Linked DNA regions of Homo sapiens: regions 2 and 3 are each linked to region 1. Evidence: promoter capture Hi-C in 16 types of primary human blood cells and fetal thymus (Javierre and others, 2016). All regions are on one chromosome and are shown on one strand. Each heading gives the region's core, a stretch centred on a gene start or on the middle of the fragment in contact. The rest is flanking DNA. Distances are from core to core; before and after follow the strand shown. Region 1 holds the start of ANGEL2 (angel homolog 2). Region 2 holds the start of PPP2R5A (protein phosphatase 2 regulatory subunit B'alpha). Region 3 overlaps LOC124904506 (a long non-coding RNA gene).

Evidence for each region. The method cuts DNA at HindIII sites, captures the fragments that hold promoters and counts their contacts. A CHiCAGO score of 5 or more calls a contact.
Region 2: the fragment with the promoter of PPP2R5A here is called in contact with the fragment with the promoter of ANGEL2 in region 1 in 3 of 17 cell types (non-activated CD4 T cells, activated CD4 T cells and total CD8 T cells); the score reaches 7.5 in non-activated CD4 T cells.
Region 3: a fragment that was not itself captured here is called in contact with the fragment with the promoter of ANGEL2 in region 1 in 2 of 17 cell types (fetal thymus and naive B cells); the score reaches 6.3 in fetal thymus.

The regions. Positions count from the first base shown.
Region 1 is chr1:213,013,421-213,017,540 of GRCh38, forward strand. It overlaps ANGEL2 (angel homolog 2), which reads right to left and starts at 2,447. Exons shown (of 9, transcript NM_144567.5): 1 at 2,193-2,447. The coding sequence starts at 2,251. RefSeq lists enhancers at 1,284-1,872, 1,873-2,460, 2,173-2,482. The HindIII fragment of the contact is 5,816 bases long and covers 1-3,893 here.
Region 2 is chr1:212,283,453-212,287,572 of GRCh38, forward strand. It overlaps PPP2R5A (protein phosphatase 2 regulatory subunit B'alpha), which reads left to right and starts at 1,958. Exons shown (of 13, transcript NM_006243.4): 1 at 1,958-2,839. The coding sequence starts at 2,659. It overlaps LINC02608 (long intergenic non-protein coding RNA 2608), which reads right to left and starts at 1,569. Exons shown (of 4, transcript NR_125984.1): 1 at 1,527-1,569. RefSeq lists an enhancer at 1,471-1,550 and a silencer at 1,721-2,690. The HindIII fragment of the contact is 5,039 bases long and covers 1-4,120 here.
Region 3 is chr1:212,458,102-212,462,221 of GRCh38, forward strand. It overlaps LOC124904506 (a long non-coding RNA gene), which reads right to left. Exons shown (of 2, transcript XR_007066870.1): 2 at 3,564-4,120. Among named protein-coding and RNA genes, the nearest start is that of LINC02771, 13 kb to the right of the region's middle. RefSeq lists enhancers at 2,926-3,095, 3,891-4,120. The HindIII fragment of the contact is 2,354 bases long and covers 1,131-3,484 here.

The DNA.
Region 1 (4,120 bases), core at 1,197-3,696:
AAAAGAAATAAATACACTCCTTGAGGCACCACTTTTTGTTCAGCTATAGTTTACAAAATCTAAGCCTGTTTCCTCAAGGGAAGGTAATGTCTAATATTTAAAATCTGGCTGCTAAATCTGTGAAGGATGAAGAGGAAAGCACCCATGATTTACCTATTGGCATCAATATCTCAATACTCTCGTCCTAAAAAACCATGAATGGTATTCTGAATACTTAACACAGAATGCCTCCCAGGCTCCCAAAATACCACATACCCCTGAAAATGTACATAGTTCAACTGAGAGATGAATCAACTATCAAAATGATATTCAGAGTAGCTTTCAAGCACCTACAAAACTCAATGAGAAAATAAAATACACAACAAGTATTATACTGAAATCGAATAAGGAACTCATATCACACTACAATTAAAGTAAACCTCTCCTCCAACTTGGAGTAATAACAAGTTTCTGAACAGTTTTTTATACCAAGGGCAGATTTTTCCAAACACTTGTATAGTTAGGAAAACAAAAGCCTATCCACAACTTCATAAATTCACAAAACTACTTCTCTTACTAATCAACGGGTGGATAATTTATTTCTCCATTCTTTTTTAAGCATGATTCTCGTTGGGGGAAATGAAAGAGGATGGGGATGACGTACTACGAATGCACCAACACTCCAAACCAACAGCTTCAATTTAACCCATCATCCAAAACATCTCCAAAGTGGCGCTAACATTTTTAATAGGTATGTTGCTCTCAGGCTCTCAAGAAACACTTCAGCTTAATAAAGCACCATGTTCCTCTCACTATACTACTTTGGCAAAATGTTAAGATTCAGAGAAGGACTTTTATCCTTTCCTCCAAAATTCTTAACAGCTACATTTCTACCACAGCATCAATAATGTGCGCTCCCATCCCTAAGGGAATTTTGTTTAAGTTGCGTTTACTGTTATTTAACTTTATACGCTGTTATTCTCGTTTTAACAGCATTTAAATTTTTATTATAATTTTTACAGTTTAAGTATTCGCTAGTTGTTCTCTAAAATCTACTTAATTGTAAATCTTTAAAGGCATAACATGGGCATTCTACACTGCTTTGTGATAACTCTGAAAGCCATAGGAATTTGGGCACTTGGTCCATGCATTTTCTATGCTAATAAGCCACTGTATTGAAATATAATACTTGTACTACAAAAGCTATTATCTATATTTGCAGTTATTTATTCAGACTTTTTTTTCTCTTAAGATGTTAAGCTCCTTCAGGGCCAGAACAGAACCGTCTTATTCATTTTAATTCCGTTATCTTCACAAGTGCCTAGCACAGTGCCTGGCAAACAGCTGGTACTCAGGAAACATTGTTGAACTGAATTACCATCAAGTCCCAGGCCTATGGGAGTTACAACCAAATCCCCATCGCTTATGTAATAATACATGCTGTGTTTCCCAAGCGTGGTGGGTGGTACACGAGTCGGTTTCACAGAGTACACAGTTAAATTACTTGATTGTAATTTCTAAATACTTATGTTAGTTTATTAGGAAAAAACATAATCGCACATCAAATCCAAGACTCTGCAGACACTGCTTAGGGTGAAGCTAATGTGGGCAGCACCTACTGAAGTGCTTTTTAAAAAAAACTGAGTCAATTTAAAGAAAAATATCCAGTAAATAATACACGTGAAACAAGAACTTGGCCATAACAGTAAGGGATGACATACAAGTGACTAAAGTTTGAAAGACACTAACACATCAACAAAAATCAAGCCCCTCCTGGGCGTGTGCCACACACGCGCCTCCAAGGGATCAGGCCCGCCGAGACCTACTGCGGAGAGGCGGCCTCCCCGCCGACGCTCGGTTCCCGGGACGGTGCTGCGGAGTGTGTGGAGCAGGCCAGCGCTGGTCTGGAGGCTGGGTTGGGGGAAGCAGGCCAGGGATCCAAAGCCACTGGCACAAGCCTGGCCGGCGGCCCATGAACTCCGCGCCAAGACCCCAGACCTCGTTGGCCCAGCGTCCCGCCAGCTGCGCGGCGGGTTTACCTATCCCGCTTGGTCTCTGGAGGCTCGTCCCGGATGCACCATCGCCCAGACCCTCTTCCTCTTCCTTCCACCCCTAGCCCGCCCCGCCCCGCCCCGGGTTAGTCCCGGACGCCCGCCCGCTCTTTCAGGCCGCCCGCCCCTCTCTCCTCCCTCCGAGTACCCAGCCCTACTGACCGGCCTCTTCCCACCACACAGTGGCCGTAGCCCTTCCTCACACAGCGCCAGGCTTCCATCTTCGCCCTCCGCGTGCGTCCAGTTCCCAGGCCCCGGGTTCCACCTCAATCTCTATAATCGATGCGACGGCCTAAAGTATCTAGGGAACCCCATCACTCTTAAGTACCGACTCCAGTCCTGGCTGCAAGGCATGCTGGGAGGTGCAGTCTCGCCGGCCGGCCTACACTCCATCTTGCGCAGTCAGAGTCCCTGAATGCCTTAACCCGGAATTCTGCTCAAGGAGCATGCGCAGAGCGTGGGACGCGCGTGCAACCATTTCTGAAGAGGGCAAAACACCCGAACTTCGTCTTAAAGAAACAGAAATAAACTTTCTTTTTTTTCTTTTTCTTTCTTTCTTTCTTTTTTTTTTTTTGAGATGGAGTTTCGCTCTTGTCGCCCAGGCTGTAGTGCAATGGCACGATCTCGGCTCACTGCAACCTCCACCTCCCGGGTTCAAGCGATTCTCCTGCCTCAGCCTGCCAAGTAGCTGGGATTACAGGCATGAGCCACCACACCCGGCTAATTTTTGAATTTTTAGTAGAGACAGGGTTGCACCATGTTGGCCAGGCTGGTTTCGAACTCCTGACCTCAAGTGATTCGCCCGCCTCGGCCTCCCAAAGTGCTGGGATTACAGGAGTGAGCTACCGCGCCCGGCAGAAATAAACAGAGCAGTGAAAATTTTTAATTGCCCAAAGTGCAGATTCCCAGCTGAGGCTGAACAACGCATCCTCTGGGTGCCCATGGAACTGAGGTACCACAGAATTTTGCAATTAATGTTGCGGAAGCACAGCCATAGCTCTCACTTTAAAATGTACGTGTATGGGCCGGGCGCGGTGGCTCACGCCTGTAATCCCAGCACTCTGGGAGGCCAAGGCGGGCGGATCACGAGGTCAGGAGATCGAGACCATCCTGGCTAACACGGTGAAACCCCGTCTCTACTAAACATACAAAGAATTAGCCGGGCGTGGTGGCGGGCGCCTGTGGTCCCAGCTACTCGGGAGCCTGAGGCAGGAGAATGGCGTGAACCTGGGAGGCAGAGCTTGCAGTGAGCAGAGATCGAGCCACTGCACTCCAGCCTGGGCGACAGAGCGAGACTCCGTCTCAAAAAAAAAAAAAAAAAAAAAAAAAGTACTTGTATGTCTTGTGTGTCCACCTTTATTAAATGTATTATAGGACTGTAGATTGTTGAAAGACATTATTTAAGTGGAGACCCTGCAAGAAACAGGAAGAGAGAAACCGAGAAAGAATAAAGTGTGGAGAGTAGAGGGGAAAAGGATACTAGAAGGCAGGAGCACTGCTTTTATAGGCTCTTTGAAACAGTGGTAATTTCTTGGGAAGGCTTTTCTTATCCCTGGTGCATAAAAGGAAGTAAAGTGTATTTGAAAAAAACCTTTCCCTCAGTATGTAATTGATTCTTGTTATTTGCAGTAGTTAGGTTCTGTAAAGTTGCTGGAAACACTGAATTAGTAAATACTGAATCATTACTCCTAAGGGAAATACAGGATTAGGATCCTGTAAGCCTCTGGTCGCATTTTCATCAACTTAATCAATACATAGTTTTGTTGTATGTGTGTTTCCGCTTAAAGACATCTTATTTAATATATATTGTTGATTCATTAACATTGAACTCAGTCAACAGCACTATAATTCATACCTCAACAAAGCTTATCTAACACTGCTATTTTCTCTGCAAGGCTCATGACAGCCTTCTTGTGCTTAGGAGCACTATACAGCACAACGCTTGGGGACCATTTTAAACAGCAACATCAACAAAAAGTACAAAAACGTGAAAAACATATCACTAAATGGAATGTGAAAAGGACACTTGGTCCTGATGGCTCACGCCTGTAATCCCAGCAATATGGGAGGCCAAGGCGGCTGGATCGCTT
Region 2 (4,120 bases), core at 708-3,207, 730 kb before region 1:
TGAAACCCCGTCGCTACTAAAAATACAAAAAATTAGCCGGGCGTGGTGGCAGGTGCCTGTAATCCCAGCTACTCGGGAGGCTGAGGCAGGAGAATCGCTTGAACCCGGGAGGCGGAGCATGCAGTGAGCCGAGATTGTGCCACCATTGCACTCCAGCCTGGGTGACAGAGCAAGACTCCGTCTCAAAAAAGAAAAAAAAAAGTGGATTATTTCAAGATGTTGGAACAGCAAAGACTAAGTGTTGAGGATGCATAACTTCTTTTAGGGGATCAGTATGTGGAATGATGTGCCTGAACTAAAAAGAGTTTTTGTGGGCACATGTAGGAATTTACACTTGGAAAGACAGGAGTCAGATCGCAGAGAGTCTTGAATTTGGACTCTATTCTGCAGGTATTGGGTGGTTCCTCAAACACGCAGGTAAGATAAAAGTGATCTTAAAAGATTGATGTGGCAGTGAGTTTGAAAGCCGTGAACTACGTTTGGCGGTCTTTGTACACATTGGGAGAAACGCCAATTGTGAAAGTAGATTTAACATGATCTGGAGCTTGACTATGTGAGAAAGCGAAAAGTGTCAGAAACGCTGCTGAGGTTTGAACCTCCTTGACTGGGAGGATTATGTACAATTTCACCGCCCAGCAAATCTGAAGGAGGAAATGTTTTGAGGATAGTATGTTTGGTTCTAGGTCTAGAATTCAACTTCCTGCCAAATTTGGAATCTTCTGTACATATGCATCAGGTGGCTTCGTTTAAATATACGACAATTACTTTTATTATGTTGAAAGGAAAAGGTCTGGAGCTCGAGGGAGGGGATTACAGATTTGGGTCCATTGGCGCAAAGGGAGGCTGACTGTTCAGATTAATAATTATTAACGGCCACCGTATGGAAAGCACTGCACGAAAAACTAAGATGACCAGTCCTCGTCCTTAAGAAATTCAAAATCTAGACGGAATCTCCAAGAAAGAGATTCCGGTAAGAGTACATGGCAAGCCTCCATATCCACACACCACTGACCAATGAATTTGTACTCTTCTCGTTGGAGTAGTTGAGGGCCTTTGGCTCAAGGAGGGGTGAAAATTAGCAGGATACTAAATTGGGAATGAGAAATCTCTTTTTAGAGGGCGTGGACTTGCAGAACTCTTTGAAGCAGCAGATGCTAGACTGCCCAAACCCCACGCGAGAGTAGCTCTCTGGAGTTGCGGAGTCCGAACCTCCCAAGAGCTACAAATTTATTCCGCAACTACCAATTTTGCGGTTTGGGGCCAGTAAGGCGCCAAGACCCGCCCAGGTGTCCAGACCTCGCAACGATTGGACGAGCTCACCTTCTCGCCTTCCCCGGGCCCCTCGCCCGTCAATCACACTGCTTGCTCGCCACCTGACCTCTGCTGCGCCCCCTTTCAGTGGTGTAACACCTGGCGCTCTTTCGCGCCCCAGCCCTCCGGCGCCCCACCAATCGCTTCAGTTCTTCATTGGCCAGCAGAGAGGTGAGGGAAGGGAAGGGGCGCTCTATTTTGCTCTCTGAACGCACCCTCTCAAGTTTCCCAGTCTTCTCGTAGACGGTCAGGAGAGCAATGACAGCCTGGAGCAGTCGCGCGTGAGCGCAAAAATGCCCGCTGGTGGAGGAGCGCTTCCCCTCCCTCCCAAGCGATTTGCCGCATTTGTTCTGACGCAGGGGCACCCCGCTCGCCGTCTTCACTTACGATTGGCTGTGGCCGAAGCCCGTCACACAGCCCGCCCCACTCCTCTGCCTCAAGAGGCCGCACCTCACGCCGTCGCTGCCGCTTAGCCGTGTGATTGGCTAAGAGGGCTGGCATGCTTTCCCGCCCCCTCCCCCGCCGCCGCACCAAGAGGCGGGCGGGACCCCGCGGAAGTTGTCAGTCAAACTCCTCCTTCCCACCCCTTGCGAGGCCCCTCCCCGGGCCGCGCGCCCTGGCGCGCGCACACGCGCACACACTCCCCAGTCGCCTGTACCAACCACCTTCTCAAGTTGTAGCGGTCGCTCGCCTGGGGTTCTCCGTGGGCGGCCGACGGGCGCGTGGGGGAGGGGGTTCGGGCCGCCCAGCGCGGCAAGGAGCGAGTGTGTGCACGCAGAGGGCCGGGGCTACGGGGCAGCGCCCCGGGCGATGAGGGGCCGGCGTTGACCGGGAAGAGCGGGCACCGCGGCAGTGGCTCCGAGGGGACCCGCGATGGCAGCGCCCTGAGAGGAGGCTCCAGGCAGGGCGGGCTGCGCTGGCAGCGGCCGCTGAGGTGCTGGCCGGCCGGCTGGCTGGCGACGGGGGCAGAAGCGACGAGAGGCGCGCTCGGCACCCGCACCCCCGTGCCCCCGCCTCAGTTGTCTAAACTTCGGGCTCTCTTCCACCCGCTCTGCGCGCCCAGAGTCAACAACTTCTTCACCCCCCTCCGCCCCCGCCCTTCCCTCCGTCAGCCCCGGGAGCTCGCCGCGCGCCGGGGACCAGGAACCTCCAGCGCTGAGATGTGGCCGTGAGGCGTTGGCGGGCGGCGAGGAGAAGCTCGGCGGCGTCCCGGGGCCGGAGGGCCGTGGGGCCGGGGCGCAGGGGCGCGAGCACCCCGCGCCTCTCCCCCGCCTCCTCCTGCCGTCTCCGCCGCTGCCCGTGCCTTGCAAGCAGCAGCCGGAGCTGCCAAGCGTCAGGGCCGCGGAGATGTCGTCGTCGTCGCCGCCGGCGGGGGCTGCCAGCGCCGCCATCTCGGCCTCGGAGAAAGTGGACGGCTTCACCCGGAAATCGGTCCGCAAGGCGCAGAGGCAGAAGCGCTCCCAGGGCTCGTCGCAGTTTCGCAGCCAGGGCAGCCAGGCAGAGCTGCACCCGCTGCCCCAGCTCAAAGGTAACCTCCGAGGGCGCAGCCCCAGCAGCGAGCGCAGGGGCTGGCAACGCTTGCCTCTGCGCCAGCAGAGCCATTTCCTGCTGGGTTTCTCCTGCTCAGTTGGGACTGGTAGTGTGTGAGCCGAGTTCCCCACAATGCCTTGGCGTCACCTCACGCCCTCCTCCTTATTCAAACAGGTTTTCTGTGAAGTCTTGGCTGTTTCCTTCTAATTCCCACCTGAACTCTTTCCATCCTAGGGGAGGCCAACACCCTTCCCCACCTGCGCGCTTGCTTAACCTGCACTTCCTATCTTGCGTCCCGTGAAGTAGAGTCCTTCACTCCTCTTCCAGGTTTGCCCTTTCCCGGTCTTGCTTTAACAACCGCACGAACCTTCCCCGACCTTCACTTTCCCGAGTGTCAGCTCCTCTGTTCGGCCACTTTTAGCTAGTCCTTTACTTTTACAGTTATAAAGCCGTCTGCACCCACCTTCTTCTCAACTTCACTTCCCATTGATTGCCCCTAAGAGTCATCAGACCAGGAATCCGAATGCAAACAACGGTTAAGAGTTAGCTGGCCTTTGGATGTATTTATAAAGAAAAAGCCTAAAATTTGACCAGTGTAGTATCTTATTCACAGGATCGTTAGCTTTAAATGGTATCCTTTAGCTCAAGGAATAGATTTAAAATATTCTGTTGTCTGAGCCGATACACATGGTCTATTTGGAAATACGAAGGAGTAGGTAGTGTTGCTTTGCAGTCGAATGGGAACTTAGTTTGCCAGGCAGTGATTCCAGGGACTTTGTAGGTTTGTACAGGAATTCAAATTGGTATCCGTGCCTAATGCCTTGCAGGAGAACTTGGCACTCTTTTTGGCTCACTTTTCCCACTAGGTTTAGAGGATTTTCGATGTTATTTCCTGGTGTTCTAGTTTATTCTTTGTGTATTACTCATGCTTAATTTTATAATTTTAATGTCCTTGCTTTTTATGAGATAGAAATGTTGGAACAAGATGATAATGCTCCTACATATTTAGATAAAATTTGCAACCTGACGGAAATCCCTATCATCTGATGTTCAGATTTTTCAATTCATTTGAAAAAGCTGCAGCATCCCCTTCAAGGCCAGTCTGGTTCTCATTTGTCTTTGGGCCTGTGAATCCAGCCTTAGTTTGGCAAGGAGTCTAAAGAAAACCCCAGATCAAATCACAGTTGACCTACAACAGCTCCAGAACCCTATTGAGACCCTACCTTGCCCTGACTCTTGGAGTGCTTCTAAATCATGACATCTCACAGTTAGAATCAAA
Region 3 (4,120 bases), core at 1,058-3,557, 560 kb before region 1:
CTTGTAGAACTAACTTCACCCCTAATTCAGAGGCCAACACCAGCCGGCAGGCACCCCCCACCTCACCAGATGTCTGGTTCCAGCCCCACAAGGTGCTCCTGTCTCTAAGTTTTAATCATTCCAAATGCACCCCTTTGCTGCCTCGTCCTTGGGGTGGTAGTGCTTCCTCCATGATACCTTCTTAGCATCTCTGACATTAGTGTTAAGGGGTCCCAACCCCTAACATGAGTTTCCTGGACTGTGGGGGGCCTTTTGTGCCCTTCTGAGCCCTGGGGAGATCAAAAGCAGTTGTCTAACCCCTCGGTGGTTAGTAACTGCTCTACTCTGAGAAAGAAGGGCTGGCTTATCCTTGGAGAGGCCAGTAATTCTGTTCTCAGCTCTTCTCTCTGCGGGCCTCCACATCTCAGGAAGAAAGGACAGGTGCCATCTCAGTTCCAGTCATCTTAGCACACGCCTCCCTCTCTGCCTCCCTGCTGATCTGCACCTTAGCTGTGGCCTGGCCTGGTCTCAAAATGCTCCCAGGAGGAGAGGCCATGGCCTTCTCCATGCCCACCCTCCCTCACCAAGTGTGAGCAGAACTGATGGAGAAGCTGGGCCGAGGGAGGAGAGAAACTCGAGTGGGAGACCTTGGGGCCGTTGGGAGAGGGTACAGAGAAGGTTGCTGCCTCAGATGCCGTGGGTTTCTGTTTCCTTCCCCATTAGTGTCTTTCTCATGGAGAAAATCTGTTTTCCTTGAAGTAACTTGACTGAGTCTTTGACTGGTTCTCCTTTGCAAGGTGAACCCAAGAAAGAAAAGAAAAGACAAGGAACCCAACATCCACAGAGGACCTGCTATGTGGCAGGAAGTGCTGGGAGCCCTGAACACATGTATGGCCCTCCTCGAGGACTGACTGAGCAGCTCTGGCTGATGGGGGTGTGGCTGAGGGGGAGGAGGGGAGGGGCTAGGAAGACAGTCTCAGAAGAAAGAATAATGAACACTAGATGTGAAAACTTCCACAAAGCAGGTGGCCCACCAGGCAGGATCAGAGCAGTTCCCTGCCATTATAGAGTTTCCTTTTGCCTAGCTCTTCTGTGTTTGTATTGGGGTGGTGTGTGTGGGGGGAACACAGTTTTGTTTTGATCATTTATAAAGCTTTACTGAGGTATAATAGATACACAAAAAAATCACATACATATAAAGAGTACATCTTGATGAGTTTGGACATATGCATACACCTGTGATACCATCACCAAAATTTAGGTACTAAACATCTCTATCGCCTCCAAAAATTTCCTTGTGTTCTTTTGTGTTTTGGTTTGTTTTTTTGGTAGTAGGAACACTAAACATGAGATCTATCCTCTCAACATATTTTAAAGGGTGCAATTCTGTATCGTTATCTACAGGCACCATGTTGTACAGCACATCTCCAGAACTTACTCATCTCGCATAACTAAACTTTATACCCATTGAGCAACATTTCTCCATTTCCCCTTCCCCCAGCCCCTGGAAACTGCCCTTCTATTCTCTGCTTCTATGAGTCTGACTATTTTAGATACCCATTTAAGTGGAATCATGCAGTATTTGTCGTTCCGTGTCTGGCTTTTTTCACTTAGTATAAAACCCTCTTGGTTCCTCATGCTGTTGCAATTGGCAGGATTTCCTTCTTTTTTAAGGCTGAATAATATTCCATTGTATGTATTTGTCACATTTTCTTTATCTATTCATCTGTTGATGGACATTTGGGTTGTTTCCCTATCTTGGCTATTGTGAATAAGAAAAAAATACAGTTTCTCAACCCAAAGCAAACAAAGAAACATTGTGCAAAATATAAGTGTTGACAGAAAGGCAGGCCGGGAGGGTAAACAATGGCTGGCATACAGCACAGATCAGGCTTCTGAGAGAACCGTGATGCCCCGGGCACACCTCTTCTGCCAGGACTAGCTCACTGGGGGAATTTGTCAGTGCTGTGCAGACCCATAGGTCTCACCTGGTTCTGGTTTGTAGAGGGAGGCAGTGGGACCCAGGCCCACCAGTGGGAGTTCAGAGCCTGCTGTCAATTCTGCCTTTTCTGCCAGGGCTGTGTCTGAAAGGACTGATAAAAAATGCTCCTGTGTTTGGCTCTCTCTGCACCATTTTAAAACTCTTCGATAGTGATCAGCACAGCTATTAAAAGTATCAGGTGGAAATCAGCCACTCAGGGCTGACAGGTGGCTGATTCTGACCCCCACTCCCCAGCCATACATGTCTAGGGTAGAAACCGGTCACATAAACAGGAACTACAGTCTTTCTCAGGCTTTGCACTTGTCCCAGCCTCTGAGCAGGGCCTCTGGGCCTCCCTTTTGGGCTTGACCCAGCAAGCATCCTACCTGAGCTCACTCCTCACCTGCCCAACTCCAGCGATCTGGGGTGATATCTGCAGGAGCTGCCCTCAGTGCCTCCAAAGCTCGAGAAGGTGCTACATCACAGGTAGAGGGAGGGATGCTGCCTGTGAAGATTTCCTCCCCCACAGAGTGTCCCGGACTGCCGTGGTGCATGGCGCCCTCCTTGGAGGGGAGACACGTGCATCTGCCCTGGGCCACATGTCAGTTCTGACGCTGCATGGCCGTGTGCTCCCTGGGTCTCACCAAGATTCTTGGGCGAGCAGCCTTCCCTGTAGTCTCCTTAGGCTCAAGCCTTCAAGGACTAGGCTAGAGGCTGACCTGAGTGACCAGCACCAAGCGGTCCTCCAAGCTGTCCCTCCTCCTGGACCTCCCCAGCGGGGTGCTCATCACTCTCAGACCAAGACCTCTAGTCTTTCTCTTGGGATGAGTTATTTCTCATCCTTAGTCTCTCACACCAGTGTACTCCTGGGGTCCCAGCCCATAAGACATGTCTGAGTCTCCCCTATGCAAACACCCCACTGTGCACAGGTGTTGTTATCCTCATGTTGTGGGTGGGGAAACTGAGGCTCTGAATGTCAGATGACTTGCCTGAGGTCACTCAGAGTCTCCAGATCCCTAACACTGAGTCAGCCCTATGCTCACCACACAACGCTGTGTTACACACCACCTCACGGTTGTGGCTAAAAGTTATGCTTTGAGGTTGTCACCTGGCTCTGTCCAGGGACCCGCAGGCTGTTCTGAGGTTGGACTTTGGTGGTTCCCATGTAGGCCCAGCATCAGAATTGCCTGTGAAACTTTGAAAAACTCAGGTGCCAGGGCCTAAGCCCAGGGAATTCTGACTCACTAATCCAGGTGGGCTCAGGTGCACAGGTGTCTGTAGAGTCAATTCTCATTCTTCATGGTAGTTATGTTTTATAAAGTCTCTGTGAACACTGAATGAGCAGATACTGAACCTTTGCGCCTAGGGGAAACACAGGGTTAGATTTCTGCCTGCCTCTGGTTACAACCAGTACATAGCCTTGTTTTATGTGTATTTCTATTAAAGACACCTTCTTTACTCTCTACGGTTGACTCATTGACACTGAACTCATGGTCAACAGCACCATAACTTGTGTCTGAAAGAAGCTTGTCTGATACACGTGTTTTCTCTGTATGGGACATCACGGCCTTCTTGTGCTTAGGAACAAACACCAACACTCTGCTTGGGGGACATTAATTTTTTTTTTTATTTTCATAGGTTATTGGGGAACAGGTGGCATTTGGTTACATGAGTCAGTTCTTTAGTGGTGATTTGTGAGATTTTGGTGCACTCATCACCTGGGAAGCATACACTGAACCCAGTTTGTAGTCTTTTATCCCTCACCCCCTTCCCACTCTTTCTCCCTGAGTCCCCAAAGTCCATTGTGTCATTCTTATGCCTTTGCATCCTCATAGCTTAGCTCTCACTTATGAGTGAGAACAGACAATGTTTGGTTTTCCATTCCTGAGTTACTTCACTTAGAATAATAGTCTCCAGTCTCATCCAGGTTGCTTCGAATATGCTTAGGGGACATTTTAAACAGTGAAATCACCAACACAAAGCACAAAAGCATGAAAAATGTGGCACCAAATAGCCTGCGAAAAGGACACTTGTTTGCATTGTGGGAGCTGAAGCCAGCAGGCTGAGCGGGCCTTGTTCCACCCCCGCTGGGAATGTGCGTGTTGAGCAGCCCTCATTCTTCCCCACTCTGTGTGTGTCCGAGAATGACCCCAAAAGTGC